3 separate regions of the Homo sapiens genome follow, and regions 2 and 3 are each linked to region 1. Evidence: promoter capture Hi-C in human tissues and cell types (Jung and others, 2019). All regions are on one chromosome and are shown on one strand. The core of a region is centred on a gene start or on the middle of the fragment in contact, and the rest is flanking DNA. Distances in the headings are between cores, read along the strand shown.

Region 1 (4,285 bases), core at 463-2,962:
AAGCATTCATTTATTTTCCAAGGGTTGGCTGAGTTAAGTCACATGAACATGTGTTCTATTTCAGATGGGTTTGAAACTAGGCTTGATGCCTTAAGGAATAGGGATGTCTAGATTTCTTTTTTCTGTACACTGCTTAAGACTCTGTGGCCAGCTAACTCTCAGGCTCCTTTGCTGCACTCAGATTGCTGGCCTCAGTTACACAGAGGACAGATTTGCCACATTCAAAAATGCTCTCCCTGGAATTGAAATGAGTTTGCAAAAGGTAGGAGTACATTTTATTCTCATTCTTGTGCATCTTATTTACCCTGATGGAAAGCATTACTTCTCTTTATCTTTCAAGGTGACCCAAAAGCATCCAAAACCAGGTTTTCCAGAATTATAGCATGTGTCCTCTAATGAAATGCCAACATTCACTCTCTTTAAAAGTAAAAATATCAAGATTATATAGTCATTAAAAAGAATAAGTCTGAACTAAGTGTTCTAAGATTTGATGCCTATGATGACTGGAATGGAAAAAGCAAGTCATATGATTCTATTTAAAATACTTACATTTGCCTGTGTGTAAAAGGCAAAGATCTCAATTGAGCACACGGTGGTTAACTGGGGAGTGGGACTATGGTATGTACAGAGGGCGAGGAAGGGGCTTGCACTTGTTCCTTATTTCTGAATTGTTCTGAATTGTCTAGATTATTCACTGAGTGTGTAGTGCTTAAAAATTAATTAGAAGACATCACACACATTCACTGAGAATCCTAATCAATCTTCACTGCATTTAAAGTCTGGAAACGGTTACATTCTCAGTTTGACTGGTTTCATGCAGTGTTCAATTGCTTCACCTGACATTCCTCGGGTATCGGGTTCTGTGCCGGGCACGGAGGCTACTAAGATGAATAACACCTGGTCCATGACAGGATGGCATCTACCCCAGAACACAGGTAAGAGAGACAGTGAATTTGGTAAAAATGGGCACCGTCATCAGTAGGCATACATCAGCTCCCTCATCTGATTCACAATTGGCCTTCTGTAGGCTTCTTCTCTTGGCAATGCAATTGGCAGGCGTCATCCTTTTATACTTAAACTCCAAATTTAGGATTAAGACTCCAGTTAATACTGCCAAGCAGAAGGCGTCCTTGGAGAAAGAGAAGTCTCCTGAACATACCCACTGGGGTACCTAGAATAGATTTTGCAGCGACACACAGATCCTGTGTTGTCTGGAGTCTCTGCTGAGTAATGTAGATTCTGGGACAGCAAAAGGGGAGCTGGTGACTTTGAACCAAATTTTACCTTTCAACTGAATCCAGGGGAATAATTTGCAACAGAGTGGCAGACGATACAAAGTGCTATGTTGAACACTAGATTGTGCTTTATTTTTTCCGCCCAACTTCACGTTTCCATGCACCAAAATGTTGATGCTATAAATATTGGATGCCACGCTTACCTGACAGGCTTCTTCCATCCCACCTGGGCGCGGGGGCTCAGAGCGAGCGCGCGAGCCGCGGCTGGAGCCCGCCTCTCGCGGCTGGAGAGGACTCAGCCGGCCGCGGGTTCTGCTGCTTGCCCGGGTGCCCTAGCCGCTTCCCAGCCAGGGCTCCCGCAGTCAGCCCCGCGCGCGCACGCGCGCTCCCCTCGGGCGGCCTCGACGCCTCAGGGCTTCGGCAGGGCTGCGACTGGCCGGCTCCAGCGGGCGGGGCGGCGAGCGAGTGCTCGCGGCCACGTGACCGACGCCAACATGGCGGCGCCCAGTGGCGTCCACCTGCTCGTCCGCAGAGGTAAGCGCGTGGAGGAGAGCCCCGTGAGGGTTCGCACGGTTGCTCACTAGGTACGCACCCGGGTCCAAAGGGATGCGCACCCGCGCTCAGACTTCTCGGCGCACACGACTGTACTTTCAGTGTTTACGAACACACGCAGGCACACACGATGACACATTCACACACCACAGGATCACACATACAAATTTGTTCACTGATCACCCGCCTAGAACACGTCACCACGTGGCATCTTTTCGCAATTACTCCTTGAGATTTGCGGGCCATTGTCTGAAGTTTTTTTCCCCAACTTCGGTTGTATCATTAGTGTAACCAACATTTATTCTGTATGCCGAGCAAGGAAACCTATGGTAATTCTGAAATGCATCTGGACACCCGGTTCCCTTCCCTAGAGCTTTTATGCAGGCATGCTTTTTGGGGACTTGCAAAATGTGATGGTTTTCTTCCAGTGACTTAAAGTTAAGAAGATAAGAAAGGATGTCTGGGTAGTTCTAAGTAGGTTTTATCCTGCGTGAGTGTTGAGATTTTAGTAAATATACAAATGCCTTTGCAGCAGAATTGGGGAAATCTTTGTTGGATTTGAACTAGGTGCTGAATCTTTGTTGGAAAGAACTAGAAAGTTTTTCCAAGGACGGGGGAAGAGGAAAACTATCATATTTTGAGGAGCTACTTAAGCGTCAGGCATGTAGGAACAGTTTTGTGAGGTAAATATTATTTTCATAGTAACAGCTACTGTTTATTAAGTGCCTTTTAAGTACACGATACTGTGTTAAGCGCCTTACATATGCTTGCTTCCTTTTAAAACTCAATGAATGAGACCCCGTCTCTACAAAAAATTTTAAAAATTAGTCGGGCGTGGTGACACATGCCTGTAGTCTCAGCTATTCTGGGGGTTGAGGTGGTAGGATCGCTTGAGCCTGGGAGGTCAAGAGGCTGCAGTGAGCCGTGATCGTACCACTGAACTCCAGACTTGGCAATAGAGCCAGACCCTGTCTCAAAAACAAAAACAAAAACCCAGTGAGTTAGGAATTATTTTCTCTTTGCAGAAGGGAAAAGTAAGGCTAGAGAGGTTAAGTAACATTACTAAGGTCGCATAAATGGTAAGAGGCAGATTGCTCATTTGAACATGACTCTAATTTTTTTTTTTAAGACTCATTTCTCGGTACTGCATGACGTGGTCACTCCATAGAAGTCAGTGTGTAAAGTTCAGCAGAGACAGTGCAGGATGAGTGTGTACAAAAAGTGAAGAGAGCCTGGGCACGGTGGCTCACACCTGTAAACCCAGCACTTTGGGAGGCCGAGGCAGGTGGCTCACTTGAGGTCAGAAGTTCAAGACCAGCCTGGCCAACATGGTGAAACCCCGTCTCTACTAATATACACAATTAGCTGGGCGTGGTGGCGCATGCCTGTAATCCCAGCTACTCGGGAGACTGAGGTAGGAAAATTGCTTTAACCCAGGAGGTGGAGGTTGCAGTGAGCTGAGATCATACCACTACACTCTAGCCTGGGCGACAGAGCGAGACTCCGTCTCAGAAAAAAAAAATAAATAAAAATAATAAAAAATAAGAAGTGAAGAGGAAGATATTTTTAGAGAGGAAGAAGGTTGGTAATCGAATAGACTTCAGTATTTCAGTGTTAGTGGAGATGAGAAAGGGGCCACAGGAAGATTTGAGGGGAGAGATGTGTATGGGGAAGGTGATGTAGCGAGCATTTTGGACTGGTTGCATGAAGGAATGGACATCAGCATGAGAGTGTAGCCTTGTGAAAAGACAGCCAATTTACATCTCTCAAGATCTGGGTGCCAGGCCTGGCAAGGTGGCTAATGCCTGTAATATTACCCAGCACTTTGGGAGGCCAAGGCGGGCAGATCACTTGAGGCCAGGAGTTCAAGACCAGCCTGGCCAACATGGTGAAACCTGTCTCTACTAAAAATACAAAAATTAGCCAGGTGTGGTGGCACATGCTGGTAATCCCAGCTACTTGGGAGGTGGAGGTGGGAGGGATCGCCTGAACCCAGGAGGCGGAGGTTGTAGTGAGCTGAAAAAAAAAAAAAAAAGATCTGGGTTCCAGTCCAAACTTTCTTTACTAATTACTTTTCTGTTTCCTCTTTTCACAAGAAATCATGGCTTTTAGACTTCATTTTTGTATGCTTCAGGTAATGGTGAGAAGGATCTGAGGAGATAGTCAATGTAGAGGAGGAGCCAAAAAAAAAACAACCTGAAAACATACATAGGTGTATGTATGTATATATATATACACCTATGCATGTATAAACGTATTTTTATATGTGTGTATATATGTATTAGGTTGGTACAAAAGTAATTGCAGTTTTAGAATCAATGACAAAAACTGTGATTACTTTGCACCAACTGTATATATAACATCTCTTTGCAGATAACAGAAATAGCATTAATCTTTTCTTTCTTTTTGATCACTTATTATTTTGACAAATGGTGGTTTAGACAGTCTTGAGAAAATATATTATATGGAAGTCAGGCCAAGTTATTGGTTCCTATAAT
Region 2 (4,285 bases), core at 1,318-3,817, 250 kb before region 1:
TCACTTATTAGCCATTAAATTTAATTGCAACTCTTATTTATTTTTAGTCACATGTATTTTTACCAGCTTAGAGAAGCTTAAAAATGTTCTTAGAATTCTATTCTATATTGCTATTAGTAATATAATTAATATTAGCATTTCTGTCAATAACAATTGTTGAGAGAGTCAACTCAGATCTCCCACATCTCTTCCTAGTTAGCTAGAATGGTACCAATTCTGTTTTCTTAATTTGGATTTTAGTCTTAGAGATTTGAAGTTACAATTAAATGTGGATTGAAATTTAATATTTCTTTATAACAATTTTGGTATTCTGTGTATGGGGTTAAATTATTTGGGGATGACTAGTACAAATTAGAAGGATTTTTTTGTCAAATTTCAAAATTTTTTAAAAATTTTATCATACTTTTAGTCTGAATCCAAACACTGAATGTTTGCTCCATGTGTAGCAAATAAAACTCTTCTTCCTTAGCAAAGAAGAGGCACAGTCAGATTCCAGGGAGCTGGTGCCATTGTGTTGGTGCCATCATCCTGGCTATCTCCAGCTAGCTCATGGAACAAGAGGCTTTAGACAGACTCATACTGCACCTTCAGTATGAACCGTTTCTAGGAACACTGAGTCAAATACAGGTTTCAGCTGATAGAGATACATGCTGCACAAGTGATTCTTGTCCTTTACAACTGAACCATAATCTGCTTATGAGGGCTTTTGAAGTGTTTTCTTTTTAAATGGGTTTTGGCCATGTGTTTTCAAACAGCTTGACTTCTTAAAGACATTAAAACAACAAAAAAGGATTCTTTATTCAAGAGAAGACCTTTCAAAATAATGTGTCTAGTCTTCTGAGAATTTTTTATACAAAGACTTATTTTCCCAAACCATTTTCAAGGATCGACTATAATGTCATTCATAATATATCACTGAAGAAGAAGAAAGTTGGGGAAATTCTTACCTGTTTTCATCTTTGTTTTTAAAAATGTAGCCAGCTTGAGAGAAGAATTACTGTTTTACATGTTTATAGAAATCTTGATGAAACTTTTAACACTGTCCTTTATTTTAAATGACTTTAGGTACCAACTGCCAGCATTTCTGTGGAGGGTAATCCTGCTCTTAATCGTGTGAGATGGACCCATTCTGGCAGAGAGATTGCTGTGGGTGATTCTGAAGGACAGATTGTTATATACGATGTGGGAGAGGTATGGGACTCCCTGCCTGTAATTTTGACACATCGATTTAGTTGCATTGTAGTAAAGGCATCTTTGTGGCTAACCCTAGGCTTTGAGGTTTATGAGTTGTTTAAACTATATGGTTGTAAAGATAAAACTTACTTTCTACCACAGAAGCAGCTCTTGAAACATTTTCTTTCTAAACCGAATGTTCTGTTTCCCATGCAACAGATTTTGAGGGTAATACAATAAATACATTGAAAATACCTTGTTTCTTGAAGCATGCATTGCTGGAAATTAGAAATTCTTTGGGGAGAAGTTTGGAGTTATAGGTGGACTTTGGGGTTTTATTGATATTGAAATAAGATTTATTTTTCTGTATTCATTAATTTGGGCCAGGTAGTAGAAACCAAAAGTAGTATCTTTTGAGAACCATCTGTGACTTTATGCAATGTGCATCTTGACTCTTAAGCCTTGATGCAAAGCCACAGTAATGGAATCCAATAGGATGAGCTGCAGCTCTCTCATCTTTGCTGCTCTGATTGGCTGAACACAAAGCCCAGGATGGATTTCCTCTTTTTTAACCCTGGCTAGGGGTTAAAAAAGTGACCTTAGTCACTTTCCTTTGCTATGCCTCATGATTTCTCTCCTCTCTGGATATCCCATGGCCTCTAGCAATTGGATCTGGTGGGAGGTAGATTTAATCATTTACAGCAGCCAATTAAACTATCTGCACAAATGGAAATGTTCTGTACCTGCACTAATATGGTAGCTTCTAGCCACATATGGCTATTGAACACTCTAAGTGTTGCTACTACAACTGCGTAACTGAATTTTTAATTTTAATTAATTTTAATATACACAGTCACATGTGGCCAGTAGCTACCCTACTGGATAGTGTAGATTTATAAACAGGCACAGCCATTTGCCACAGTGAGTGGTTTGTGCCCTAACATGACAGTGTCAGACTCCTATGATATTATAATGGCAGTTATCAAAAATATTTGTTATTGGGGCCGGGCGCAGTGGCTCACACCTGTAATCCCAGCACTTTGGGAGGATGAGGCGGGTGGATCACCTGAGGTCAGGAGTTCGAGACCAGCCTGGCCAACATGGCAAAACCCCATCTCTACTGAAAATACAAAAATTAGCCAGGCATGGTGGCACATACCTGTAATCCCAGCTACTGGGGAGGCTGAGGCAGGAGAATCACTTGAACCTGGGAGGCAGAGGTTACAGTGAGCCAAGATAGTGCCACTGCACTCCAGCCTGGGCAACAGAGTGGGACTGTCTCAAAAAAAAAAAAAAATTATATATATATATATATATATATATGTTATTGGGCTGCCTCTGAAGTAAAGCATCACAAGGCTCTTTTGCCACCAGTGCAGCACTAAAGTGGTAAATAGTAGCACAGCTTTTGATGAAGGAGTTAAGGTATCAAGAAAGATTACCTTATGTTCCAAAGAAAAATACTTACAAGAAACGAGCCCCCTTATGAACCATGCTTCAAACACTGTTTCTTACTAGGAATTTTGCAAGAATACAGTAAAAAAAAAATTTTAAGGAATTCCTCTCCAGCAAAATCCATGAGATGGTGCATAGGAGTTATATTTACAAAGCATCATTGTTATTCTCTCTTGCATTGGTGGTGATAATAGCCAAGTCATTTCTGAGGCTGTCACAACACACTTCACAAACACCGTCTTTTGTTTTGAAATGTTGTAAATCATTGTTATAGTCCCCGTAATTATGGAAAGGCCATTCAGGTCAATTATTACTTTTTAACAGAAAAATTATTTGAAAACAAACTGAATAATAGTGGGTAAAATGATCTTTTATTTCATTGTATATAAAACATTGTCTTTCTTTTAACAGCAGATTGCTGTTCCCCGCAATGATGAATGGGCACGGTTTGGCCGAACACTTGCAGAAATTAATGCAAACCGAGCTGATGCAGAGGAGGAAGCAGCTACCCGAATACCTGCTTAGTTCCTGAAAAGGGGAGTGTAACTAGTGGATTTGGGAAAGGTTCTTAAGTAGATCCTGAGACTATTTGCATGCTTCTGTCTAAATGATAATTAAAAGGAAATTTCATGGATTAAACCATGGGTTTAATGCAGCAAGGAAACTTACAATGTCCCTTTATATATAACATGCATCTTGTTTTGGATTTGTGTCATTTTTTAATATAGCTGATTGACTTCACAGAAAGCAGCTTTTTTGAATTCTAATACATAGGTGTATATTTGGTATTAGTTATTTTGAGTTCTTTTCAACTTATAACACTGTATACAGTTATTTCTAAAGCACAGATGAAATAAGTTCTGCATATTTTTAAATAATCACAGTTCCCTGTTATACAGATAATGTTCTCACTACCCATAATATGTAGGAACATTGTTTCTCCTTAGCCGTAGTATGCATACACCTATCCATGTTCATTCTGACATCCTTTGTTGTCTTTATAATTCATGTGGTAGTTACCTATAAATAAAAACAAATATGCGTTAACTTTTCAAATTTTCATTTTTACTCCTTACAACTTGAATTTTTCCATCTTTTATAAAATATATTTTTTCCATATCTTTCTTTAAGCTCCTGCTGTGAGCAGCCATCTCAAATCCTATAGAGCTGTGTACCCTAAATATACCATGTGGTATATACTATAGATCTCCCAGTGCATTATGAATTGATGTCTAGATAATCTGTTGGTGAAAAAATTTCCCCTAGGTTAACTTTTGCTTTACTACTTTATATTCTTTCCATCTAAGACATATTTCCTTTAAAGGATAAATAGAAAGCTGCCTATAATTTTCACTGATTAAGAACTATGTATGTGACCTCACTGAGAGTAAAATCTTTGAGAGAAATTGATTTCATGATTTCAGTAGCCATAAAGGCAAAGTGCTCAAATGGACCCATACTTTGGCATTAAAATCTACATCTTGAGATCTGTTGCCACAGCATTGTCTACAAGTCCGAAAGGTAGGTGACAAATATCTAAGAATCAGTATTGAAATCAGTGAATTTCAGGAATAGAGGAAAGGACTATGATCAGATCTTGATTTTATCTACTTTAAATTGTCTATTTATTTGATCCCAACCTTTTGTACTTCTGAAG
Region 3 (4,285 bases), core at 998-3,497, 190 kb before region 1:
CTGCAAAGGACAGGAACTCATCCTTTTTTATGGCTGCATATTATTCCATGGTGTATATGTGCCAAATTTTCTTAATCCAGTCTGTCACTGATGGGCATTTGGGTTGGTTCCAAGTCTTTGCTATTGTGAATAGTGCCACAATAAACATATGTGTGCATGTGTCTTTATAGTAGAATGATTTATAATCCTTTGGGTATATACTCAGTAATGGGATTGCTGGGTCAAATGGTATTTCTAGTTCTAGATCCTTGAGGAATTGCCACACTGTCTTCCACAATGGTTGAACTAATTCACACTCCCACCAACAGTGTAAAATGGTTCCTATTTCTCCACATCCTCTCCAGCATCTGTTGTTTCCTGACTTTTTAATGATCACCATTCTAACTGGCGGAAAATGCTACCTCTTTTCTACACTCAAAACCCGTTAGCTTTTACAATAAAATTTAAAACTTATTCCATATGATTATTGAGAAAACCTGCTTAGAATCCCTTGAGTTCAAGAGAAATGCCACTAAGATATCTATTATATCTGTGCAAAAAGGTCAACGGAATGTATTTGTCACAAGAAGCGCCTAACAGTAATACTTACACAGCCTCCAGCAAGAACTTCTGCTGGAAGTGGAACAGAGCCATCTCTTCTGGTAAATTTGTCCCGAACAAAATCATTAACCTAATTAGAAAGACAACATCAGTTAACCAAAATTCCCAACCATTTCTCTTCTGGCATACTGTTGCTTTTCCAAGTCAGCAAAATATTTGTCTTATGATAAAATTTAAAATTATCAAATGCTTACATGTAAAATTAAAGTTGTACAAATTCTGCGACAGTGTGCCAGTGTCAGCAGCATCAATTTTAGTTTTGTTTTTGAGACAGGGTCTCACTCTGTTGCTCAGGCTGGAGTGCAGTGGCATGATCATAGCTCACTACAGCCTCAAATTCCTGGACTCAAGCAATCCTCCCACATCAGCCTCCTGGCATAAATCACCACACTTGGCTAATTTTTAATTTTGTTGTTGTTGTTGTTGTTTTGGTAGAGCTGAGTTCTTACTATGCTTATGCTGGTTTAGAACTGGTCTCAAGTGATCCTCCCACCACCCAAAATGCTGAGATTATAGGCATGAGCTACCACGCCTAGCCTTGATTTTAGCTTTTTGGCTTAATGGTAATCTAAACAAATGACATAAATTCAGTTAGAGATAAACTTACAGTCAGTTTAATGGCCTTTTCTGGAGCAACCCCTATAAGTTGTGGTATCAGACCTAGGTAAAGGGACAGAATCATCAGCAATATAGCTGTACCAGACATGAATACACAAGCCCAGCAACAAAGAGTTTCCCCCATATTATTTACCCATCAAACATTGCAGAGTTTTCATTAAAATGGGAAAAAGATTATCCTTAAAACTCTGTATACATATGTAATAATTATTTACAAATGCAGTATAATGTCACGTTTTCTTGAGGCTATAAATCCTCTTCTTAAGCATGCTTACTTTAAAGCCTAGTTATCCAACACTTCCCAAAAAGTCCATGAAGAAGAAACGGAGCCATGCGTCTTCTCTATTCTGGGAACACTGCCAATAACAATGTAACCAAATTCCCTCCCTTATTACAACCAACAACATATAAACATACACAGATACTGTACACTTGGAAAAGCTCTGAAAAGCATGCTGTTAAGCATACCCAGATTTTGCTACCTACATAATGGCATACAGTGGCTTCGTTATTATAGAATACTAACTCCCATAATCTTCTCTTCAGAGAAACACAGCATTCAATATTCATTTATTTAAAAGGAAGCCAAAACTGCAAAGAAAAATGCAGTTTTAAGTATTGTTTAACGAGTATCTCCTATAAGCAAAAACATATGCCTGTTGTATTCTTATTGACTAATATATGTCAAGCTTAAGACATTTTAAAAGAATCCCCTCAAAACAAAGGAAATCATAATCCTTAGAAAGTTAAATTCCCCAGGCTGGTTGTAAACTGGAAAAGAAAAAAATAAACAATTCAACATCTGTTGGGCTCAGCTTTCTAAAGCACACAGCTTATCCAAATTGTTAGCATACTTTTTTGCATACATTTTTTAAAGATGCTAACAATAAACATTTTATATCCTTTAAATCATCCAGCCAAAGGGGAGTTATATATGTGTTTGCCTGCTTGCTGACTGCTGATCTTAAGCCTGCTTTGAGGATACTGCTGAGTTCCATAAGTTGAGAGCCACAAGTAATCATACATATAGGCTACTGTCAGTCAGGCTGAATTATCAATGATACACACAAAGCCTCACACACCTTTCATGCGTAGCAGACTGATTTAAAAGAACAAATCAGCAGATGGCAGTATTAACTTTCTAACCCTCGTGATTATCAGGCTCTATTACTTTTAATCTAACTCCCATACAACCATGTCAGCATGCATATTTGTTTTACAACTCGCCTCAATAAGGCTCATGGAATTTAATAAAGTACTGATTTGTGTCATTTTATCATTGTTGCCTGCGAAGAAATTTAGCTAATCTGTCAACAATTTTGTCAATCATCTGACAGAATAATGGACCAGTTGCAAGCAATATATGACAATCTCAATAATCATAGTGCTCACATACAGGACTCCTACAATCTTCTCCCTAATACAAAAGTCTCTCATTTAAAGAACTGCTTTTATGAGCTTACATCCTGAATAAAACCAACAATCCCCTCCCCTACTTGCTATATTGCATCCATTTAATAAACATGACATCTCTCTCAAATGAAATCTTCTGTAAGCATCTATCCATTGAGAAGGCTAAACTATGCAGTAAATATCTAGGTTCCTTTTAATAGGGGACATTTTCTTTGCAATTTAAAAGTATACCAAAGAGGAGAAAGGTCATTATTCAACAAAGAAATATTGGAGATATCAAGGAAAAAAACAACCTTAATGCCACTCAACCTTGATTCCCCATTAAATAAAATCTGGATATGCAGGGTTTAATCAGTTAAAACAAGCATTCACATGGAAAGGTCTGCATTCTGGATATTGTACGCCTTTCCACAGGGTACATGCTGTACAGGTGGAATTCAAAGAGACTACAGTTCTGAATATTTGAGGAAAACTCATCACATTCATTCTCAAGAGCAGGGTACTTGAGCCTAGTTTGATTTCGGAATAACTCTCTCCTATTATTCTATATATAATGCTAAAAATGAACATCCTTGTGACCCTCTACTTCAATTATGAGTTTATCGGAGTTATATTTTTTGCTTGAATACCTGTATATAATGCTAACCAGCGGTGTTTTTTTCCTCCTGTCCATGAGCATAAAGCTCTGTTCGGGCCCAGTCTTTCTTAGGAAGATTTCTAAGCCAAATAGTTCAACAGAGCTCAGAATAGGCTAGGGATTAATGAGCTTGTATGTGCAAACAAACAAGTACAGTAAATTACATAAATGGCATGGACTTGAGCATGTAGAGAGTATTTTCATAGAATCCCAAGTGGCGCCCAAAGAGATTAAAAAATTAATCTCCCTCCCAAAGGAAACCCTATATTCTAATGTGAAAACACATACATGAAAGTCATTCTCTCTCCAAAGAGACAAGTTCCTACAAAGACAACGGGGGGTGGGGAAAATTCTGCATGGGGCGCAGTGCTGCCTCTGATGCCAACTGCACTGTGCTCAGTCTAGAGTGGCTGCTAACATTCCCTGCGAAAGAAAATCTCTCTGTTTTGACTGTACACCTCTGAGCTAAGTGGGGGAAAGAAGCAAGAATTAGACTTGGAACCAAAGGGTTTTCCTTTTTTTTTTTTTTTTTAAACCTTCAGATGGCTCATTGGAAAAAATTTATAAATGGTCCCTGAAAGAGACAAAAACATTTGATATTTATTTCAGTTGAAATAAATATATGGAGGGTAAACTCATCTTTGAGTGGTAACCTGGATTCTTTTTCACAGGAAAGAGATGTATTTCTCCTCTTTAATTCTTTGAGAAAAGCAGCTCTATATTTCTTAACTATCATCCTTGTATTCCACCTGCAGATATGTGCCTTGGTTTGTAGGAGCATGGTGACATAGACCCATGTTGGGACAAACACATAATTTGGACACCAAGAAATATAAACCACAAGAAGAAGAAATGAAGACCTTATTTGCAGATTAATATTGCTAATCACCAGAAAGAATGCAAAAAGGGAAATGAGCAAAGAGAAAATAAAAAGAGAGAAACAGACCTAGTCTGGCTAGGCATACTACATATTGGCTTCCATAATTAGTGAGTTAAAATCTGCTGCTGGTGAGATCA

Evidence for each region. The method cuts DNA at HindIII sites, captures the fragments that hold promoters and counts their contacts. A contact is called where the count stands out against the background at its distance.
Region 2: a fragment that was not itself captured here is called in contact with the fragment with the promoter of METAP1D in region 1 in 1 of the 25 tissues and cell types used here (IMR-90 fibroblasts).
Region 3: a fragment that was not itself captured here is called in contact with the fragment with the promoter of METAP1D in region 1 in 4 of the 25 tissues and cell types used here (H1 embryonic stem cells, heart left ventricle, liver and 1 more).

Annotation. Positions count from the first base shown.
Region 1 is chr2:171,998,241-172,002,525 of GRCh38, forward strand. METAP1D (methionyl aminopeptidase type 1D, mitochondrial) reads left to right here and starts at 1,713. Exons shown (of 10, transcript NM_199227.3): 1 at 1,713-1,769. The coding sequence starts at 1,730. It overlaps LOC124905590 (a long non-coding RNA gene), which reads right to left and starts at 1,669. Exons shown (of 3, transcript XR_007087296.1): 1 at 1,439-1,669. RefSeq lists a silencer at 1,408-1,707. The HindIII fragment of the contact is 22,489 bases long and covers 1-4,285 here.
Region 2 is chr2:171,744,737-171,749,021 of GRCh38, forward strand. DYNC1I2 (dynein cytoplasmic 1 intermediate chain 2) reads left to right here. Exons shown (of 18, transcript NM_001378.3): 17 at 1,066-1,191; 18 at 3,040-4,285. The coding sequence ends at 3,153. Among named protein-coding and RNA genes, the nearest start is that of DYNC1I2, 59 kb to the left of the region's middle. The HindIII fragment of the contact is 5,468 bases long and covers 1-4,285 here.
Region 3 is chr2:171,809,017-171,813,301 of GRCh38, forward strand. SLC25A12 (solute carrier family 25 member 12) reads right to left here. Exons shown (of 18, transcript NM_003705.5): 12 at 1,208-1,260; 13 at 590-670. Among named protein-coding and RNA genes, the nearest start is that of SLC25A12, 83 kb to the right of the region's middle. The HindIII fragment of the contact is 4,001 bases long and covers 248-4,248 here.